6 separate regions of the Homo sapiens genome follow, and regions 2, 3, 4, 5 and 6 are each linked to region 1. The links are contacts of gene promoters, found by promoter capture Hi-C in blood cells and fetal thymus (Javierre and others, 2016). All regions are on one chromosome and are shown on one strand. Each heading gives the region's core, a stretch centred on a gene start or on the middle of the fragment in contact. The rest is flanking DNA. Distances are from core to core; before and after follow the strand shown.

Evidence for each region. Contacts are between HindIII fragments. The CHiCAGO score rates a contact against its expected background, and 5 or more counts as called.
Region 2: a fragment that was not itself captured here is called in contact with the fragment with the promoter of PPP3CC in region 1 in 1 of 17 cell types (naive CD8 T cells); the score reaches 6.0 in naive CD8 T cells.
Region 3: the fragment with the promoter of TNFRSF10D here is called in contact with the fragment with the promoter of PPP3CC in region 1 in 2 of 17 cell types (fetal thymus and naive CD8 T cells); the score reaches 9.0 in fetal thymus.
Region 4: the fragment with the promoter of TNFRSF10B here is called in contact with the fragment with the promoter of PPP3CC in region 1 in 6 of 17 cell types (naive CD8 T cells, activated CD4 T cells, total CD4 T cells and 3 more); the score reaches 8.5 in naive CD8 T cells.
Region 5: a contact is called between a fragment that was not itself captured here and the fragment with the promoter of PPP3CC in region 1, in 1 of 17 cell types (endothelial precursors). The highest score is 5.4, in endothelial precursors.
Region 6: a contact is called between the fragment with the promoter of TNFRSF10A here and the fragment with the promoter of PPP3CC in region 1, in 6 of 17 cell types (non-activated CD4 T cells, naive CD4 T cells, total CD8 T cells and 3 more). The highest score is 10.7, in non-activated CD4 T cells.

What each region holds. Positions count from the first base shown.
Region 1 is chr8:22,439,572-22,442,516 of GRCh38, forward strand. It overlaps PPP3CC (protein phosphatase 3 catalytic subunit gamma), which reads left to right and starts at 1,507. Exons shown (of 14, transcript NM_005605.5): 1 at 1,507-1,887. The coding sequence starts at 1,839. RefSeq lists silencers at 1,090-1,279, 1,370-2,029. The HindIII fragment of the contact is 13,070 bases long and covers 1-2,945 here.
Region 2 is chr8:23,004,948-23,007,647 of GRCh38, forward strand. It overlaps RHOBTB2 (Rho related BTB domain containing 2), which reads left to right. Exons shown (of 10, transcript NM_015178.3): 3 at 425-528; 4 at 1,013-1,198; 5 at 1,781-2,700. Among named protein-coding and RNA genes, the nearest start is that of RHOBTB2-AS1, 6.5 kb to the left of the region's middle. The HindIII fragment of the contact is 279 bases long and covers 1,312-1,590 here.
Region 3 is chr8:23,162,321-23,165,436 of GRCh38, forward strand. It overlaps TNFRSF10D (TNF receptor superfamily member 10d), which reads right to left and starts at 1,707. Exons shown (of 9, transcript NM_003840.5): 1 at 1,466-1,707. The coding sequence starts at 1,615. RefSeq lists an enhancer at 1,445-1,564. The HindIII fragment of the contact is 1,686 bases long and covers 521-2,206 here.
Region 4 is chr8:23,067,609-23,070,617 of GRCh38, forward strand. TNFRSF10B (TNF receptor superfamily member 10b) reads right to left here and starts at 1,423. Exons shown (of 9, transcript NM_003842.5): 1 at 1,143-1,423. The coding sequence starts at 1,286. It also overlaps the pseudogene TNFRSF10B-AS1. RefSeq lists promoters at 1-2,515, 1,283-1,953, enhancers at 807-1,066, 1,607-1,656, 1,677-1,846, 2,628-2,922 and a cis regulatory region at 1,408-1,413. The HindIII fragment of the contact is 4,380 bases long and covers 1-2,705 here.
Region 5 is chr8:22,952,744-22,955,446 of GRCh38, forward strand. It overlaps RHOBTB2-AS1 (RHOBTB2 antisense RNA 1), which reads right to left. Exons shown (of 2, transcript XR_007060857.1): 2 at 876-1,082. It also overlaps a transcript of RHOBTB2 not described here. Among named protein-coding and RNA genes, the nearest start is that of PEBP4, 26 kb to the left of the region's middle. RefSeq lists enhancers at 1-20, 21-651. The HindIII fragment of the contact is 700 bases long and covers 1,077-1,776 here.
Region 6 is chr8:23,223,809-23,226,845 of GRCh38, forward strand. TNFRSF10A (TNF receptor superfamily member 10a) reads right to left here and starts at 1,294. Exons shown (of 10, transcript NM_003844.4): 1 at 948-1,294. The coding sequence starts at 1,253. TNFRSF10A-DT (TNFRSF10A divergent transcript) reads left to right here and starts at 1,413. Exons shown (of 3, transcript NR_033928.1): 1 at 1,413-2,315. RefSeq lists promoters at 786-1,822, 1,251-3,037, 1,251-1,904, a cis regulatory region at 786-865, silencers at 887-1,136, 1,304-1,495 and an enhancer at 1,547-1,686. The HindIII fragment of the contact is 5,488 bases long and covers 1-3,037 here.

The sequences.
Region 1 (2,945 bases), core at 257-2,756:
ACCCAGGGGTATGATTTGATAGGCGTGGAGTTCTGGTTACTTCTTAAATGAAGAGTTTCCCCAGGATATCTGAACAATTCTCTTGGGTGGAAGACTCAAGGATCATGAAAACGAAAACCAAATTCTAGTCGGCTCCTAAAGTCCTTTTGCCTCCTGCGGTTACCATCAAAGAGCTATGGTCAAAATTCCAAGGGATAATTCAGGGTCTGATTCCACTATATATCCCCAGACCGCCTATACATAAATCCATATTATTGGAGATTTACGCTTAATCCTATAATCTTTTACCTAACAGCTGTCCAGTAGAATTTTCTGGATGTCCAATAAGGTAGCCGCGTGTAGCTCTTGAACACTTGAAATGTGGCTAGTCCCCTAGAGGAACGGGATTAATTTAAATTTACATAGCTACAACTACTTATCGGTCACTGCGGTAATTGTTAAGACTGGTTTTGCCTGTAACTTGCATATGTTTTATTGGACATCAGTTTCAATATTTCATTTGCATTGCTAAAAGTCAAAATCCTTTTGACTTTGCCAGTTACTCAGTGAGAGGACAGTTGGAGCCAGTTTCTGTTCTAGGCTTACAGTTTTAAGGACAGATAAAGGTTAGTTTTTAACCTCGAGATGAACAGACTGTTAAGTTTCTACGGACTTGCCCATGGGGTTCCACAGTGAGCCTGGGCCGGGGAGGCAGGTACTGTGTCAGGGGGAAGAAAAAAGGGGCTTCTAGCTGGGCAGGTGACACACAGGGCATAGGAAGAGGTCAGTTCTTGTGGCCGAGGAGGTCCGGCCCGGGGGTCCCAGGAGCAGAGATCTCCCTTCTCTTCGATGTGGAAAGTGAGGAGGGAGCAGAGCCTTGCTCAGAAACGGAGCTCCCCCAATCCCCCACCGCCCTAGCTACTGGACTGGAACTAGGATGGACACGAATGTCCTTCTCATTGTACTAACTGCACTCAACAAGCGGGAAAGATGAAGCGAGGGGGTTTAAATGTGTGCGTTTGTTGAATGACCCACAAAAACTGAAGGAGCGCGGCCGGACTGATCACACTCCTTGAGACAAAGCGGGTGGGAGACCCAGAGGTGAGGAGGGTGGTCGCCTGTGGGCGAGGACTGGGAGGCCAGGGGTTCTCGGCGAGGCGGTCCCAGGAGGCGGCGCGGAGCCGCTGCGAGGCCGCAGGGCCGGGTCGCAAGATGGCCGGGCCGGCCTCCCGCGCGGGTCGCGCGGGCCACGCGGGCGGGTTTCAGATGTTCCGGGCCCGGGTAGGGGCTGGCAGGAGAGAAGGGGCCGGCTGCGGGGAGGGCTGGCTGAGAAGAAGCGAAAATGGGCGGTTAGCAGCAGGGACCCGGAGCCGGAGGAGCCGAGAGCAGCGCGTGCGCCGAGCTCTACTGCCTCGCGGGAAGGCGGAAGGGTGGGGAGGGCGGCGCTCGGGGCGGGAGGCCCGGCCGGGTCCGCTAGGACAGCGGGGCCGCTGGGAAGTTGTGAGAGCGGCGCTCGGGGGCGCGCTTGCGTGCACGAGGGCCCGGGCCGCGAGCAGCCGCGGCCGTCCCGGTCGCCACCCTTAGCAGCGGTCGCGGTCGGTGCCGAAGCGGTGTTCCCCGCCTTAGCCGCTGGCGCCTCCCAAGAGAGCGGCCGGTGGGCCCTCGTCCTGTCAGTGGCGTCGGAGGCCGGCGCTGCGGTGGCCGCGCCCTTCTGGTGCTCGGACACCGCTGAGGAGCCGGGGCCGGGCACGGCTGGCTGACGGCTCCGGGCAGCTAAGGCTGCCCGAGGAGAAGGCGGCGGCCGCGGCGTAGGCGCACGTCCGGCGGGCTCCTGGAGCCTGGAGGAGGCCGAGGGGACCATGTCCGGGAGGCGCTTCCACCTCTCCACCACCGACCGCGTCATCAAAGGTGCCTGGCGGGCCGGGCCTTCCTCTGGGACCCGCGGGAAACGGCCTTCGGCTGGGCGGCGGCTCGGGGCGGAGGGAGGCTGGGGCCGGGCTGCGCCCACCCTAGGAGGGCTCGGAGGGGTGTAGACAGAGCCGGGCGGCAGCCTCCGAGAGCAGCCACCCGGACCCGGCGTTTTCTGCTGCACCTGGTCAGGTGCCTGGCCGTCAGTGCCAAGTTCCCTCCCGAAGGGTTCAGGGTGCAGTGGGGACTTCTTCTCCCACCGCCCCGAAGGGCCCGGATCCCTGTCTTTTTTTCTCTTTAAGAAACGACTCGGGGGAAGCCATCGGGGGTGGTGTGAGCAGGGAGTCGACTCTTCCAAGTAAGATATTTAAGATTAGATCTTTCTTGACGTCCGCCCCCCACCCTTTTTTAGGACGTATACCATGTGCCTTTTGACCCGCTTTCTCTAGATCATTGCAAGTCACTGCTATTACTGGAATAAACTTAGTATGAACAAGTCAGATAAATCCATTATATGATGTTTAAAATAAGTTTACGGAGCTCTTGACAGGGTAATGGTATTTTATTTTCCCTTTGGTTATAAAGACTTGGAGAATGACGTTTTCTGATTCATATGTGTACCTGCGTTAGATTTCTGTTGTTGTTATAAGAACAAAATGTAAAGGGCTCTTTGCTCTCTAAATCTTGTAGAGTTTTAGGTTATAGTTGTTTCTCCCTTTAAACTAAGAAGATGGATTACACATAACCACTAATTTATGTGCTGCTTTTATTCAGCCGTAAGTCTTAGGCACAACCCTTCTCTCTGAGATTAACAATCGGTTTGAAAGCGCTATTTTGTAAGAAGGGAATAGACTTAGACCAGCTGTGTTAGTGGCCTCTGGATGCAGGGGTTAGCGTGACAGTGGGGAAAATTATTAAGATACTTTTCTTCTTTTTCATTTTGGTATTAGAAGGAGAAAGGCAACTAATACTAGTGACGGGAATACATTTTTAAAAGGTGAAACGCCTTATTGCATGTTCAGGGAGGGGGAAGAATTTTAGTGTATAACTTAGGTTTC
Region 2 (2,700 bases), core at 201-2,700, 570 kb after region 1:
AAGCTGAGAGGAGCAAAGAAGCTGGCAGCTGATAGCAAAAGACCAGAGGCTCACAAACATGCAGTTTGCAAGGAAAGCCAGGAACAAGGGTCAGCTCCCAAAGAGGCCCCTTCCACACCCATAGCAGTCCCTTAGGGTCTCTTCCACCCCCTTAGGGTCTCTGCTACCCTCTTAGTGTCTCTTCCACCTGCTTAGGGTCTCTTCCACTCCTGGTCAGCTTGGAGGCCACCCTTGTTATAGATTCTACAGAGATTTTACGTGGATGAAAGTTGTGCAGGGTGCACAGTGGGCGATGCCAGCCTTGTCCCTCCATGCCCAGTGATGTCTGGGGCCCCCAGGTGTCAGCCGGCGCTTATCCTGAGGTGGCACGCAGAGGTCCCCAAAACTGCTGCCTTCGAGTCCCACTCTTCCTCCCCGTCCCCAGGTGCTGGAACGCTCCCGAGACGTGGTAGATGATGTCAGCGTCTCTCTGCGCCTCTGGGACACCTTTGGAGACCACCACAAAGACCGTCGCTTTGCTTATGGGAGGTAGGGAAGGCCTCTAGCCGCCTGCAGAGAACCAACAGGGTGGGTTTTTCCCTGCTTTTCCCAGGAACAAAGCACCTCTGTGAAATTTCAGCTGGCAAGAAGAAGTGGAGAAAACAGCTCTGGCAGAGCCTCATGGGGGCTGGGGCAGCCTGGTGCAGTGAAGGGAGCCTGGGTCCGGGATCAGGAAGCCTGGATTGAGTTCCAGCTCTGTGCCTAGTAGCTCTGAGATGATGTTTCTCAGCTGTGAAGTGGTGAAAACAGCCATTTCTAACTCACAAAATAGCTGTGAGGCCAAAACAAGTCTTGAGCTCTAAAGTGGCACATAAATTGGAGGTATTGTGATTATATGTTTTGTGTCAAGAGCACGTGAGCAGATACCTAAGCCAGGTGTGGGACTGTACAGGGCTGGGGTGGGGCAGATGTTCCAGGACCAGGTAAGCTACCACTTGTTTCTCTGCCCGTAACCTTACTTTCCCACCCGCAGATCTGATGTGGTGGTTCTGTGCTTCTCCATTGCCAACCCCAATTCCCTCCACCATGTCAAGACCATGTGGTACCCAGAAATCAAGCACTTCTGCCCCCGAGCACCTGTCATCTTGGTGGGCTGCCAGTTGGACCTGCGCTACGCTGACCTGGAGGCTGTCAACAGGGCTAGGCGACCCTTGGCTAGGTAGGAGGTGCTGGTACCAAGGAGACAGACATGGATGGGTGCCTCACCATGGCTCCCTGCTCAGCCCTGGGGGAATTCCACTGAGCCTCATATCTCTCCCTCCATTTGGAGCAAGCTTGCATTGGGAGTCAACAAGCATGCTCATTCATTCATTCATTCATATACCTGTTGCACACCTCTGGTGTGGGCAGTGCTATGTAAAGCATCATGAAGAAAAATAGAGAGGAAGAGGTGATATTTGCATGAAAAAGTCCTATAATTTTGCTGAGGGATAAACTAAATATGTGAGCATGTTAAATACCCATGTGAAGCATTGCCTGCTAATTGCCAGAGAGGCAGTGCTGTCACGGCTTTGTACTGGGGAGGTCACTGGGGCCTGGCATAGTAGGGAAAGCTTTCTGGAAGAAAAAGGGCTTGGAGTGGACCTTGAAGGAGCTTGATGGGATTTGGCCAGACAGAGCAGGGCAGGAGTGGGTGGGGATTGGCACCCAGATCCTGAGCAGAGTCCCTCCAGCCTGTGGAAGAACAGGCAGCCTCCCTCCACCACCAACACAAGCTTGGTTTCCTTCTTGAACCTACCAGGCCCATCAAACCTAATGAAATCCTGCCCCCAGAGAAGGGTCGGGAGGTGGCCAAGGAGCTGGGCATCCCCTACTATGAGACCAGCGTGGTGGCCCAGTTCGGCATCAAGGACGTCTTTGACAACGCCATCCGAGCTGCACTCATCTCCCGCCGCCACCTGCAGTTCTGGAAGTCCCACCTCCGCAATGTGCAGCGGCCTCTGCTGCAGGCACCCTTCCTACCCCCCAAGCCACCGCCCCCGATCATCGTGGTGCCCGACCCTCCCTCCAGCAGCGAGGAGTGCCCCGCCCACCTCCTGGAGGACCCGCTCTGCGCGGACGTCATCCTGGTGCTGCAGGAGCGGGTGCGCATCTTTGCCCACAAGATCTACCTCTCCACCTCTTCCTCCAAGTTCTATGACCTGTTCCTCATGGACCTGAGTGAGGGGGAGCTGGGGGGCCCCTCGGAGCCAGGGGGCACCCACCCAGAGGACCACCAGGGCCACTCTGATCAACACCACCACCATCACCACCACCACCATGGGCGAGACTTCCTGCTCCGAGCAGCCAGCTTTGACGTGTGCGAGAGCGTGGATGAGGCTGGGGGCTCCGGTCCTGCTGGCCTCCGTGCTTCCACCAGCGACGGGATCTTACGGGGCAACGGAACAGGGTACCTACCGGGCAGGGGTCGTGTGCTGTCTTCCTGGAGCCGAGCTTTTGTGAGCATCCAGGAAGAGATGGCAGAAGATCCTCTCACCTACAAATCCCGGCTGATGGTGGTGGTGAAGATGGACAGTTCCATCCAGCCGGGGCCCTTCCGGGCTGTCCTCAAGTACCTGTACACGGGGGAGCTAGATGAGAACGAGCGTGACCTCATGCACATTGCCCACATTGCTGAGCTGCTCGAGGTCTTTGATCTGCGCATGATGGTGGCCAACATTC
Region 3 (3,116 bases), core at 457-2,956, 720 kb after region 1:
GCCACTGTCCTGACACAGCCATTCTTCTAGCTGCCTCAGGTAGGTCCACCCACTATAAACTATTGTAGAAGTCAGTTGTGTAATTTTTGAGAGGTGAAAATGTCACTGCTGTTCTGAATTTAGTATTACTTCGTTGAAAGAAAACATGGAGACTCTCATGGTTCATGTAATCTTGTTTTATCCTCCCCGTTTTGTTTTTTGGTATTACGTAAGAAACCTTAGAAAGCACTGTTGGCAGAAACGTCAGTCACTCAGAAAAAGTCCTGGCAGTCTGCACATCTTATTTTTATGTCCTTCTTGTGCACCCCACTACCAATCTCAGTTTCCAAACCCAACTCACAACGAGAACTTTACATCTTTTATGCCTAAGGAAGGGGCCATCCCGCGGTCCTGCCTATGGGATACAGAGGGGACACACGGGTGGCAGTGGAAGACACTGACTGCAAGCACCTTGGTTAACCGCTTCCTGCCACTTTCAGGGTTCTATAGGAAATGAAAGTTACAAAAAACAGCGTTGGAAAGCTTTTTCACAGGCTGTTTGTTAAACTGATCTCCAAGAAACACGTGTAACAGTGTAAACATAGGGTTAATTTTGTTTGTTTGTTTGTCTGTTTTTGTTAAGGCAGAGTCTCGCTCTGTCGCCCAGGCTGGAGTGCAGTGGTGCAATCTCGGCTCACTGCAACCTCTGCCTCCCGGGTTCAAGCAGTTCTCCTGCCTCAGCCTCCTGAGTAGCTGGGACTACAGGCGCAGGCTGCCACGCCTGGCTAACTTTTTTTTTTTTTTTTTTTTTTTTTTTGAGACGGAGTCTCGCTCTTGTTGACCAGGCTGGAGTGCGATGGCGCGATCTCGGCTCACTGCAACCTCCGCCTCCCGGATTCAAGTGATTCTCCTTCTGCCTCAGCCTCCCGAGTAGCTGGGATTACAGGCGACCGCCATCACGTCCGGCTAATTTTTGTATTTTTAGTAGAGACGGGGTTTCACCATGGTGGCTAGGCTGGTCTCCAACTCCTGACCTCAGGTGATCCGCCCGCCTCGGCCTCCCAACGTGCTGGGATTACAGGCGTGAGCCACCGCGACCGGCCTGGGTTAACGTTATGAACGAACGAACGAACGAACGAACGAAAGAGGCAACCGCTCTGTGGCTTCCTGAGGTTCACTCCGGGGTTTCCATCTTGACTCCCTCCCTCCGCTGATTCTGGAACTTCCTCTGGGGCAGCTCAGTGCGGTCCTCGCCGCACGGGACAGCCAGGGGGAGCGCGCGCTCTGCTCCCTCGCGGCCCGGTCGCTCCTGCCCAGCCCGGGCACCCCACTCTTCCCCTGACTCCGACGGCGGGTTCGTCCTGCCCAGACATGCCCGGCCGCAGGCGACCCGGGCCAAGCATCCCCACCGTGTCCCCCTCTCTCCCTGCCCACTCCCGGCGCCAGGTGCGCTCTTCCCCAGCCAGGGACCGCGGCGGAGACTCACCGGCAGCAGAACCGCGACGATGAAGACGACGAACTTAAGGATCTTGGGGTCCAGGAGCCATGGTCTGGTTCCCGACGCTGTCCTGGCTCCTGGATAGCGCCCTGCTCGAGCGCTCGAGGCGGTCGGGACGCTTTGTCCCCAAAGTCCCATGAGAAGGGAGGAGGGTGGATCGAAAGCGCCAAAAATCAATCAGAAATCGTCCCCGTAGTTTGTGCGCGTGCAAAGGTTCTCGCAGCTACACTGCCAGAATAGAACGTGCTCCTCCGCTTTTATACCCCGGAAAAAAGGCGTGGTCAGTTGTACTCCCTTCCCGCAGTCACTTCCAGGCACTCAGGCTGGGTCTCCCCCAGCACCTCCAGGAGGGCCCAGGTTGTGTGGGTGGGTGCATGGACGGACAGGAACTGGCTCTTTCCGGCAGCGGTGACCCAGGGCCTGCGGTTTGATTCCGGGTCCTGTCCAGGCTGTAGGCAGCAGAAGGGGAAGGAGCTGAGGCGCTGCCCGCTGCGCTGCTGTAGTCTGGGTAGTGAGCTCCAGAGGAGGCACTGGAGGCCCATCCTGAGCCTGCTCCCTCCCCGGGCCGCCTGTCTCTCCTCTTCTTAAACCCTGAACTACTTCCTGGCCTCAGGACTTCAGTCCACTCTTAGCTTCTGCTCCCACTCCCTCCTCCCACAGCGGCCTCACTGACCAGTGCACTGATGCCACTGATGTCTCCAGCCTCCTTGCTGCTGTGACCCAGCTCCAAGCTTCTCTGGCAGGGGCTTGGTATCCCTCAGTAGCGGGTGCCTGGCACCAAGGAGGGGCCCAGTGAACACATGAGTGGACAGAATGAAGGACACAGAGGCCATGACAGGCACCTGCAGAGGCTGAGGAGTAGGTAGGAGGGAGAGGAACGCCGGGGGCATCCCTAGCCACAACCTGGCACCCTTTGCATGGTCAAAGCACAAACACTCCCTGACCAACCTTGAGGGCTCTAGTATTGAGGCCCCATGGAGACAGGGGAATCAGGGGAGTGCCTTCCAAAGTCTGTCCCCAAGTCTATTGTCTACCCAGGTCCAACTGTCTGACCTTGGGCTACTTACCTCCCCATCCAGTTGAACACACTGCCGCTGTGAGGGCAGACCCAATGTGTGGTTTTGAAGGGTGCCAGCTTGTGACCCTAAGCAGTAAGGTCAATGGCAGGACTCCTAGACCCTTGGGATGAGTCGGCTCCTGACCCCTCACATGGTAGATAGAAGAGGATAGCGCTATAGAAATGAAGGTTTTTTGGCTCATGAGAAACCTGGGAATGAAATGTCATCCTCTCCACAGGCTTGGATTTGAGCGATGGATCACCCTGAGCACCTTCCAGGGCCCAGACAATGACCTAGGGTCAGAAATGTGAGCCAGGGCCGGGCGCGGTTGCTCACGCTTGTAGTCCCAGCACTTTGAGAGGCTGAGGTGGGCGAATCAAGAGGTCAGGAGTTCGAGACCAGCCTGGCCAACATAGTTAAACCCCATCTCTACTAAAAATACAAAAATTAGCTGGGCGTGGTGGCGGGCACTTGTAATCCCAGCTACTCAGGAAGCTGAGGCAGGAGAATTGCTTGAACCCAGGAAATGGAGGTTGCAGTGAGCCGAGATTCGTGCCACTGCACTCCAGTCTGGGTGACAG
Region 4 (3,009 bases), core at 173-2,672, 630 kb after region 1:
GGCCCCTGTACACTCTCCTCACTAGGACAGTTAGGTCCTCCCTCCACTCAGAGGTGAGACCAAGGACATACTGTGGTGTGGGGCGGAAACAGTGAAAACATGAGGTGTGTAACAATATCCCATGAAACTCCAATGCTTCACACTGACATTCTTCTAGGTCAACACCAGCATTCTCTTGACCTTCCTTTCACTGTTCCTCCTCTCCCTTCCAGCCCCTCTGTACAGTCTTGAGTTAGGTCTAGGCCCACACACTTCCCCACTCTGAGCTGCGGTCTCTTCCTCTGTAAAATGTGATGATTCAGAACCTCTCCTGGCCCCAAGCGCAGTTCCAGGCGCTGAGCACACCATGCTGTTCCCTACAAAGCCGACTCTTTGTCCCTTCCCCATTATCACGGATACTTGCCAAGAGGTGGCAAGAAAGGCTCTTCCCAGGCCAAAATGCAGCTGCTATTATCAAGCAGGTCAGGCCCCAAGTGCCACAACTCCCTTCTCCTAAATCTCGTTTTCCCAAGGAACCCCAAACAATGGCATTGGCGATGAGCGGCCCCGCACGCGTAGGGGCGCAGCCGCTAAGGAGGGGAAGGGGCCTCTCCAGCTGCGCCCGCGACGACTCCCGCGCACGGAACGGAACCACTGGGCCGCAGCGACCACAGGGGAGTTCTTCGCCGGCCGCAGGTTCAAAGCGATCTGCAATGAGCGCCTTTAGGAATTCATTCGAAGGCGCAAAAGAAAAAGAAATTAAGGCAGGAACTGAGCGAGGAAGGAAGGGAGGGAAAGAAAGGAAGAAAGAGAAAAAGAGAAAGAAACAGAAAGTAAGGAAAGAAAACAAAATCAAAGTCCGACGACCTCTCCGTGGCTTCACGCAGCTTACTCGGGAATTCCCTCCTTGTCGCCCTCCCCCACTGGATTCGGGAATTTACACCAAGTGGAGCGCGCGCTCTGTTCCCTGGCGGCCCAGGTCGCTCCTGCCCAACCCGGGGACCCATCTCTTCCCCCGACTCCGACGACTGGTGCGTCTTGCCCGGACATGCCCGGCCGCAGGCGACCCGGGCCACGCACCCCCGCCGTGTCCCCCTCTCTCCCTGCCCTCTCCAGGCGCCAGGCACGCTCTTCCCCAGCCAGGGACCGCGGCGGGGACTCACCAACAGCAGGACCGCGGCGACAACGAGCACAAGGGTCTTGGGGACCCGGGGCCCAGGCCTGGCTCCCCGCGCCTCCCTGGGTCCTGGGCCGTGCCTTTTCCGGGCCCCCGAAGCGGCCGGGGCGTTCTGTCCCCGTTGTTCCATGGCGGTAGGGAACGCTCTTATAGTCTCTCAGGCCCGTGGGTTTCAGCCCTTAAAGTAGATCGGGCATCGTCGGTGTATTTTGTGGGCGCAGAGATTGCGGGGTTCTCCGGCCGCGTGCTGATTTATGTGTCCAGGCTGACTTGGGGCGGCGCGGCTGTACTTTCACTGCCTCCGGGCAGGCGTCATTCGGGGCGGGGCGAATCAGATCCAATGTGCAACTGCAAATTCCACCACAGGTTGGTGACAATAAATAAGAGTCTCGTCAACGCAATCCTCCGCAAGCGCGTCCAAGTGGGGAGGGGAGGGGAAGGGACCGGAACTAACCTTCGCCCTGGCGGCTGCGCCCCGGGCTGTGGTTTGTTTCTGGGTCCTGTCCGCGCCAGGACAGGCACCGAAACTTGGGGGAAATGAGTTGAGGGAGGCACTTGGGGAGTTGACGCCTCCCGGGGTCGCGCGCTTGGCTGTGAACAGGGTCTTGAGGTTCAGAGTCCGCTTTCCAGGCGCGTCTTGATCTTCTCCCCTTCCCAGGGGCACCTGCCCCTTCTGTTCTCTCCTTCTCTCTTCTTTCCTTTTTTCTTTCGTTTTCTTTCGTTCTTTCGTCTTCTTTCCGTCCTTCCTGCTTTCTCTTTCCTTCCTTTCTCTCTTTCTCTTTCCTCCCTCCCTCCCCCTCCCCCTACCTCCCTTCCTTGTGGTTTATTTTTTGAGACAGTCTCTCTGTGGCTCAGATTGGTGAGCGGTGGTGTGATCCCGGCTCACTGCAACTTCCGTCTCCCAGGTTCAAGCGATACTCCCACCTCAGCCTCCCATGTAGCTGGGACTACAGGCCTGCACCACCACGCCTGGCTAATTTTTGTATTTTTAGTAGACACAGGGGTTCACTATGTTGGCCAAAAGACCATCGAACCCAGCTTACACTCACACCTAGTCCACAAATGTGCCTGTGTCCCTGCACCCTTGCTACACTTAGCTTTCATTTGTCACTAGTCTAGGAAATAAAACATGATACATCACATTGTTATGTATTTTCATTCCTTCATGGTACTGTGTCCGGAATTGGTGGGTTCTTGGTCTCACTGCCTTCAAGAATGAAGCCTCGGACCCTCGCGGTGAGTGTTACAGTTCTTAAAGGCGGCGTGTCTGGAGTTTGTTCCTTCTGATGTTCGGATGTGTTCGGAGTTTCTTCCTTCTGGTGGGTTCGTGGTCTCACTGGCTCAGGAGTGAAGCTGCAGACCTTCCCAGTGAGTGTTACAGCTCTTAAGGCAGTGGGTCTGGAGTTGTTCTTTCCTCCTGGTGGGCTCGTGGTCTCGCTGGCTTCAAGAGTGAAGCTGCAGACCTTCAAGGTGAGTGTTACAGCTCATAAAGGCAGTGTGGACCCAAAGAGTGAGCAGTAGCAAGATTTATTGCAGAGGGAAAGAAGGAAGCTTCCACAGTGTTACCACTGCTGGCTCTGGCAGCCTGCTTTTATTCTCTTATCTGGCCCCACCCACACCCTGCTGATTGGTAGAGCGGAGTGGTCTGTTTTGACAGGGCGCTGATTGGTGGTTTACAATCCCTGAGCTAGACACAAATGTTCTCCACTTCCCCACCAGATTAGCTAGATACAGAGTGTGGACACAAAGGTTCTCCAAGGCCCCACCAGACTAGCTAGATACAGAGTGTCAATTGGTGCATTCACAAACCCTGAGCTAGACACACGGTGCTGATTGGTGTGTTTACAAAACTT
Region 5 (2,703 bases), core at 177-2,676, 510 kb after region 1:
AAATATGAAAAATTAGCCGGGCATAGTGGCGCATGCCTGCAATCCCAGCTACATGGGAGGCTGAGGCAGGAGAATTGCTTGAACTCGGGAGGCGGAGATTGCAGTGAGCCGAGATTGCACCATTGCACTCCAGCCTGGGCAACAAGAGTGAAACTCCTGTTCAAAAAAAAAAGTTTCAAGCGGGAACAAAAGGAAGTAAAGTGCACTTGGAAGAGCACCAAGTGGGCTACTTGAGAGATCAAGTGCTTGGTATGGCCTTTGACTTGGGGTCTTATACATTGGCATGCTTCTGGGGAATTGCATCCCTTCTCCCCTGATTTTTCCCCTGGGGTGGGCTGTCCACCTGCGCAGTGGCCTGCCAGCACTTAGGAGGAACCACATGTGCGGCGTGTTTACTGGAGTTATACACGTGCTCATTTGAGGCACTTTTCCCTTACCAATTGAGTGTTCCTAGAGGAACGTCATGTACCAGTTACACTCCGCCATTTTGCCCCATGGTGCGCATGCTTGAGCCCACTCTCCCAACTCCTAAGATCTTATTGTTGCTGATCACCAGCTTCAGGTGTTTCTATGTGTTGACAGACTGCCTTTCCCTGGTGCTGGCTCCTACCAATTATTATTTTAGAGAGACAACTAACCACAGTCTGACCATCACTTGATGACCACCTGACATTCCTGGGGTGGGGTTGGGGTGGGAGGGACCCTCTCCTGCCCTGCTCATATCTGCCTGACAATATCAGACCTTGCTCTTGTTCATTGCATTCTGCAAGCGATGAGTGACTGAACCTGCATTTTCGTTGCAATGGTAACCCATAACATATCTCTCAGTGTAGGGCCCATGTGGTTAGTTCCTCCTTTAGAAATGAGGAAATTAATTTCAATCAGACCAAAGAGACTTATTTATTTCCCTACTGCATTTTAGCACTGAGTGCTGTACATCATAGGCACTAAGTCAACATTTGTTGAGTTGAGTGGATGGAGTATGGGAGCTCCGGGAAAGTTCACTTCTGCTCTGTTCAGTCAGGCTCCTATTCCAGATGTTCAGAGTTGATTATGCAATCCTCACGATGTTGAAAAGCTTCCTGTAATATGATGATACATAGAAGAATGTGAATGGTTGGTTTGTTTTCCTGGCCTGTCAGAGCACTGCCAGATGTACAAGGCTGCCTTTGTACTCAGGGCTTGGCTGCTGATAAAATGGTCTAAACACTTGTAAATCGTATCCTATTGTCATGTAGGAAGAGCTTATATAAGTGAATAATCGCTATCTAATTGATCCCTTTGTGTTTGCTTCAAGCTATATGCCATCGATATGTGACTGTTAAAGGGTGGTTTCAAAAAGGGTAAAATCATCACTCTCACACAGACATAAAATGAACACATGGTAGATTTTTTATTTAACTCACCATTAATGAGGGAACTGGTAAGATCTTACAAGGGCAATCCAAGGAATGGACACATTGATAGATCAGAGATATTGACATGAACATGAAAATGGCAGCAAAACTAACTGGCTTCTTCCACAGCAGGAAAGGGAATGTCAGTTGAAGCTCCACCAGACAGGTTTTTTTTGTTTTGTTTTGTTTTGTTTTTGTTTCTGTTTTTGTTTTTTAACGTATGTATAGACAAAAATCACTCTATTGGCTGCTAGTTATCTACAATGTATAAAGTTGTAAAATAGCTTAATTCAATGAATCAGAGAACCTGGAAGAATGAGCTCTAAGCTATGTATCGTTTTCTATTGCAGACACTTAATAATCTTTTTTGTTTATTACAAGCTTCCTTGGCAGTGGTGACATTTCAAGTGAATAGGGAAAAGGACACACTATCCAACAAATAGTGTTGAGACAATTGGATTCACTGTGAAAAAATAAAATCATGTTGTGATGCCATACTTTAAACAGAACAAATTTCAGGTGGATTAAAAAATGAAATATTAAAATGGAAACTTTTAAATCTTTAGAATAATATGCAGGAGAATATCTTTAGTACCTTAAGGTAGGGAAGGAAATATGACAGAAAAAAAACCACAAACTGTACCAAGGAAACCATAGATTTGACTATATCTAAAACAAAAACCTTTTCTTTCGTCAAGATGCCCCAGATGGCTGGGTGCGGTGGCTCACGCCTGTAATCCCAACACTTTGGGAGGCCGAGGTGGGCAGATCACTTGAGGTCAGGAGTTTGAGACCAGCCTAGCCAACATGGTGAAACCCAGTCTTACTAAAAATACAAAAATTAGCTGGGCATGGTGGAGCACGCCTGTAGTCCCAGCTACTTGGGGGGCTGAGGCACGAGAATTGCTTGAACCAGGGAGGCAGAGGTTGCAATAAGCCGAGATTGCACCACTGCACTCCAGCCTGGGTGACAGAGTGAGACTCTGTCTCAAAAAAAAGAAAAGATACCCCAGATAAAAACTATTGCATTGCCTATGGCCAGTAAAGGATCCACTTTCCCAGAATGTATAAAGAGCTCCTGCAAATCAAATCAGAAAAAAATCAACAACCCAGCAAAAGCGGGGAAGCTCTAGGAAGAGACTGTGAGTGCAAATGACTCCGCACTGCAGTAGCCCCTGCACCGCCTTTCGGAAGAGCACTTGCATCCCAAACCATTAAAAGGAACCTACTGGGACAACTGTGGCCCCCGAGGTTTACCGAATGCCAAGTTTATCCCCACTCTGGCTCCATGTCCTCCAGGACTCTA
Region 6 (3,037 bases), core at 44-2,543, 780 kb after region 1:
TTTCACAGGAAACGCTGCCTCCTGAAGGAAGGGCGTGCCCCGCTCCTGGCTGCCTGCCTCGTGGTGGTCAATTCGCTGCCCTGTACCTGTTGATGCGCAAGAAAGTGGCTGGAAGGAAACTGCTGCCGGTGTGCTCAGTGGACTCGAAACGGAAGACAACGAGCAGAGGAGAGAAAGTTACTTTTTCCTGCCGGGCTGCGTGTTTAACCAATTTGTCTAAGAAAAGAAGGATGGAGGGCCGGGCGCGGTGGCTCACGCCTGTAATCCCAGCACTTTGGGAGGCCGAGGCGGGCGGATTTGGCTAACACAGTGAAACCCCGTGACTACTAAAAATACAAAAAATTAGCCGGGCGTGGTGGCAGGAGCCTGTACTCCCAGCTACTCGGGAGGCTGAGGCAGGAGAATCGCTTGAACCAGGAAGGCGGAGCTTGCAGTGAGCCGAGATCGCGCCACTACACTCCAGCCTGGGCGACAGAGAGAGACTCCGTTTCAAAAAAAAAAAAAAAAAAAAAAAGAAGAGAAGAAAAGAAGGACGGGGGTGGGGAGGGAATCAGGGAGTGGGGAGAATGGCGCTCCCCTTCACGCAGCTGGTGTGGCTGGGAGTTGGCTTGGAAGTTTACACACTTGAGCTCTATCGATTCCGAAACTTCCCGATACATCGTGAGGTGTGGGCAGGAGGGAGACGCGCCAGGCAGCAGCCAACGGGGTGGAGTCCCCGGGCCCAGCCTCCTGCGGGAGGGGGCTCTGCTGCCTCCAGGCCCGGGTCGCTCCTGCCTGGCCCCGGGGACCCCGTTCTTCCTCCGACTCCGACGACGGGCTCCTCCTGCCCGGACATGCCCCGCCACAAGTGACCCGGGCCAGGCACCCCCGCCGCGTCCCCCTCTCTCTCTGCCCCCTCCCGGTGCCAGGCGCGCTTTTCCCCAGGCAGGACCGCGGTGGGGACTCACCTGCAGCAGGACCCCGACGACGACAAACTTGAAGGTCTTGTGGACCCGGAGCCGAGGGCTGGCTTCCCGCGCCGGCCTGGGTCCTGGGGCGCGCCCTGCCCGGGCCCGGGCACTGGGTCCGTGCTGTCCCATGGAGGTAGGGAGCGCTCCTCGGCCCCCGCCTCGTGGTTCAATCCTCCCCGCGGAAGAGCCCCACACTTTGCTGGGTGTGGCCGCGGCTGCCTCTGTCCCACTCGCTGCGCTCCCGGGATTCGGAGTCACTGCCAGGAACGCACCTAGATGTACTCTAGCTGGTGGTGGCGCCATCCTGCCAGGTCAATCCAAGAAGCAGCGTGCTTGGCTATGACAAGACAGAACTTCGCATTCGGAGTTCAGGGCACCCCTGACCCCGCCCCCTTTTCGGGGCACCTGCGGCTCCTGTTGGCTAACCCTGAACTTCCTTCCTCTGTGACCGCCCTTGCCGCTCTCAGCTTCTGTTCCTCAACCACGGCCGCCGCGTGGATGCCGCTGCATTCGGAGTCGTTTTGCCACTTGGTCCCAGCGCCAGGCTTCTCGGTCGGGAGTTGACCTCAGCCTTTCTGTGACCCAGTTCCTGGCACCCAGCAGGCGCTCGGTGGACGGATGGGTGGCGGAATGAAGGACACAGAGGCCACTGCGGGGTCTGGCCTCTAAGAGGCTTTTACGGCCTCCTCCGTCACTACCGGGCGAGTGATTCAGCCTGCCTTTTTTTTTTTTTTTTTTTTTTGAGATGGAGTCAAGCTCTGTCGCCCAGGCTGGAGTGCAGTGGCACGATCTCGGCTCACTGCAACCTCCGCCTCCCAGGTTCAAGCGATTTTCCTGCCTCAGCCTCCTGAGTAACTGGGATTACAGGTGCCCGCCACCACGTCCGGCTAATTTTTTTTCTATTTTTAGTAGAGACGGGGGTTTCACTGTTTTGGCCAGGCTGGTCTCGAGCTCCTGATCTCGTGATCCGCCCGCTTCGGCCTTACAAAGTGCTGGGATTACAAGCGTGAGCCACCGTGCCCGGCTCATCCTGCTTTTGGTTTCAGGTCTCCATGCCAGTGAAATGTCACCTCAACTCCACCGTCCCTGGTGTCAGGCAAGCCCGAGGGACCCAATTCTGCCTTTCTTCTGGATTTTCCTAACCTGTTAAGAGTCTTGAAAGTCCTTAAACCACGGGAGACTATCTGGCACATGACACGGGATGAGACTTGGTGGGGGTCCCACGGGGGACAGGTCCTTCCAGCGGTTCCTCTGCACCCAGCGCTGCACGGGCATGGGGCGTGGGTAATCAGCCTCCCGAAAGCCACGCGAGTCACGGTCCTGCCTGCGAAGAACTCCCAGGGCGACCTTGGGGCTGAGGAGTGGGTAAGAGAAAGGGGGCGCTGATTGATGTTCATTTTTCTCCATATTTTAATGGTGTTCCGGTACCATTTGTTGAAAAGACTCTTTTCGACCGGGCGCGGTGGCTCACGCCTGTAATCCCAGCACTTTGGGAGGCCGAGGCGGGCGGATCACCTGAGGTCAGGAGTTCGAGACCAGCCTGACCGACATGGAGAAACGCAGCCTCTACTAAAAATACAAAATTAGCGGGGCGTGGTGGCGGATGCCTGTAATCCCAGCCACTCGGGAGACTGAGGCAGGAGAATCGCTTGAACCCGGGAGGCAGAGGCTGCGGGGAGCCGAGATGGAGCCATTGCGCTCCAGCCTGGGCCACAAGAGGGAAACTCCGTCTCAAAAAAAAAAAAAAAAAAGACTTTTTTTCCTTATCCAATAGCCTTATCACTTTTGTTGAAATTAAATTGACCATATATATGTATGTGTCCATTTCCGGACTCTATTCTGTTCCGTTTATTTATTTGGCTATTCTCATGCTAATTACCACATTGTCCTAATTATGAGCTGTATAGTCAGTCTTGAAATCAGGCAGTTCAAGTCCTCCCCCTACTACCCACCTCCCAAATGGTTTGCATTTCCGTATATATTAAATATAGAATAATTTTTTTCAGTTAAAAAAGCCTACTGGAATTTTAATTGGGATTGCATTGAATGTAGAGATGAATGAGAATAATTGACATTTTAACAATTTT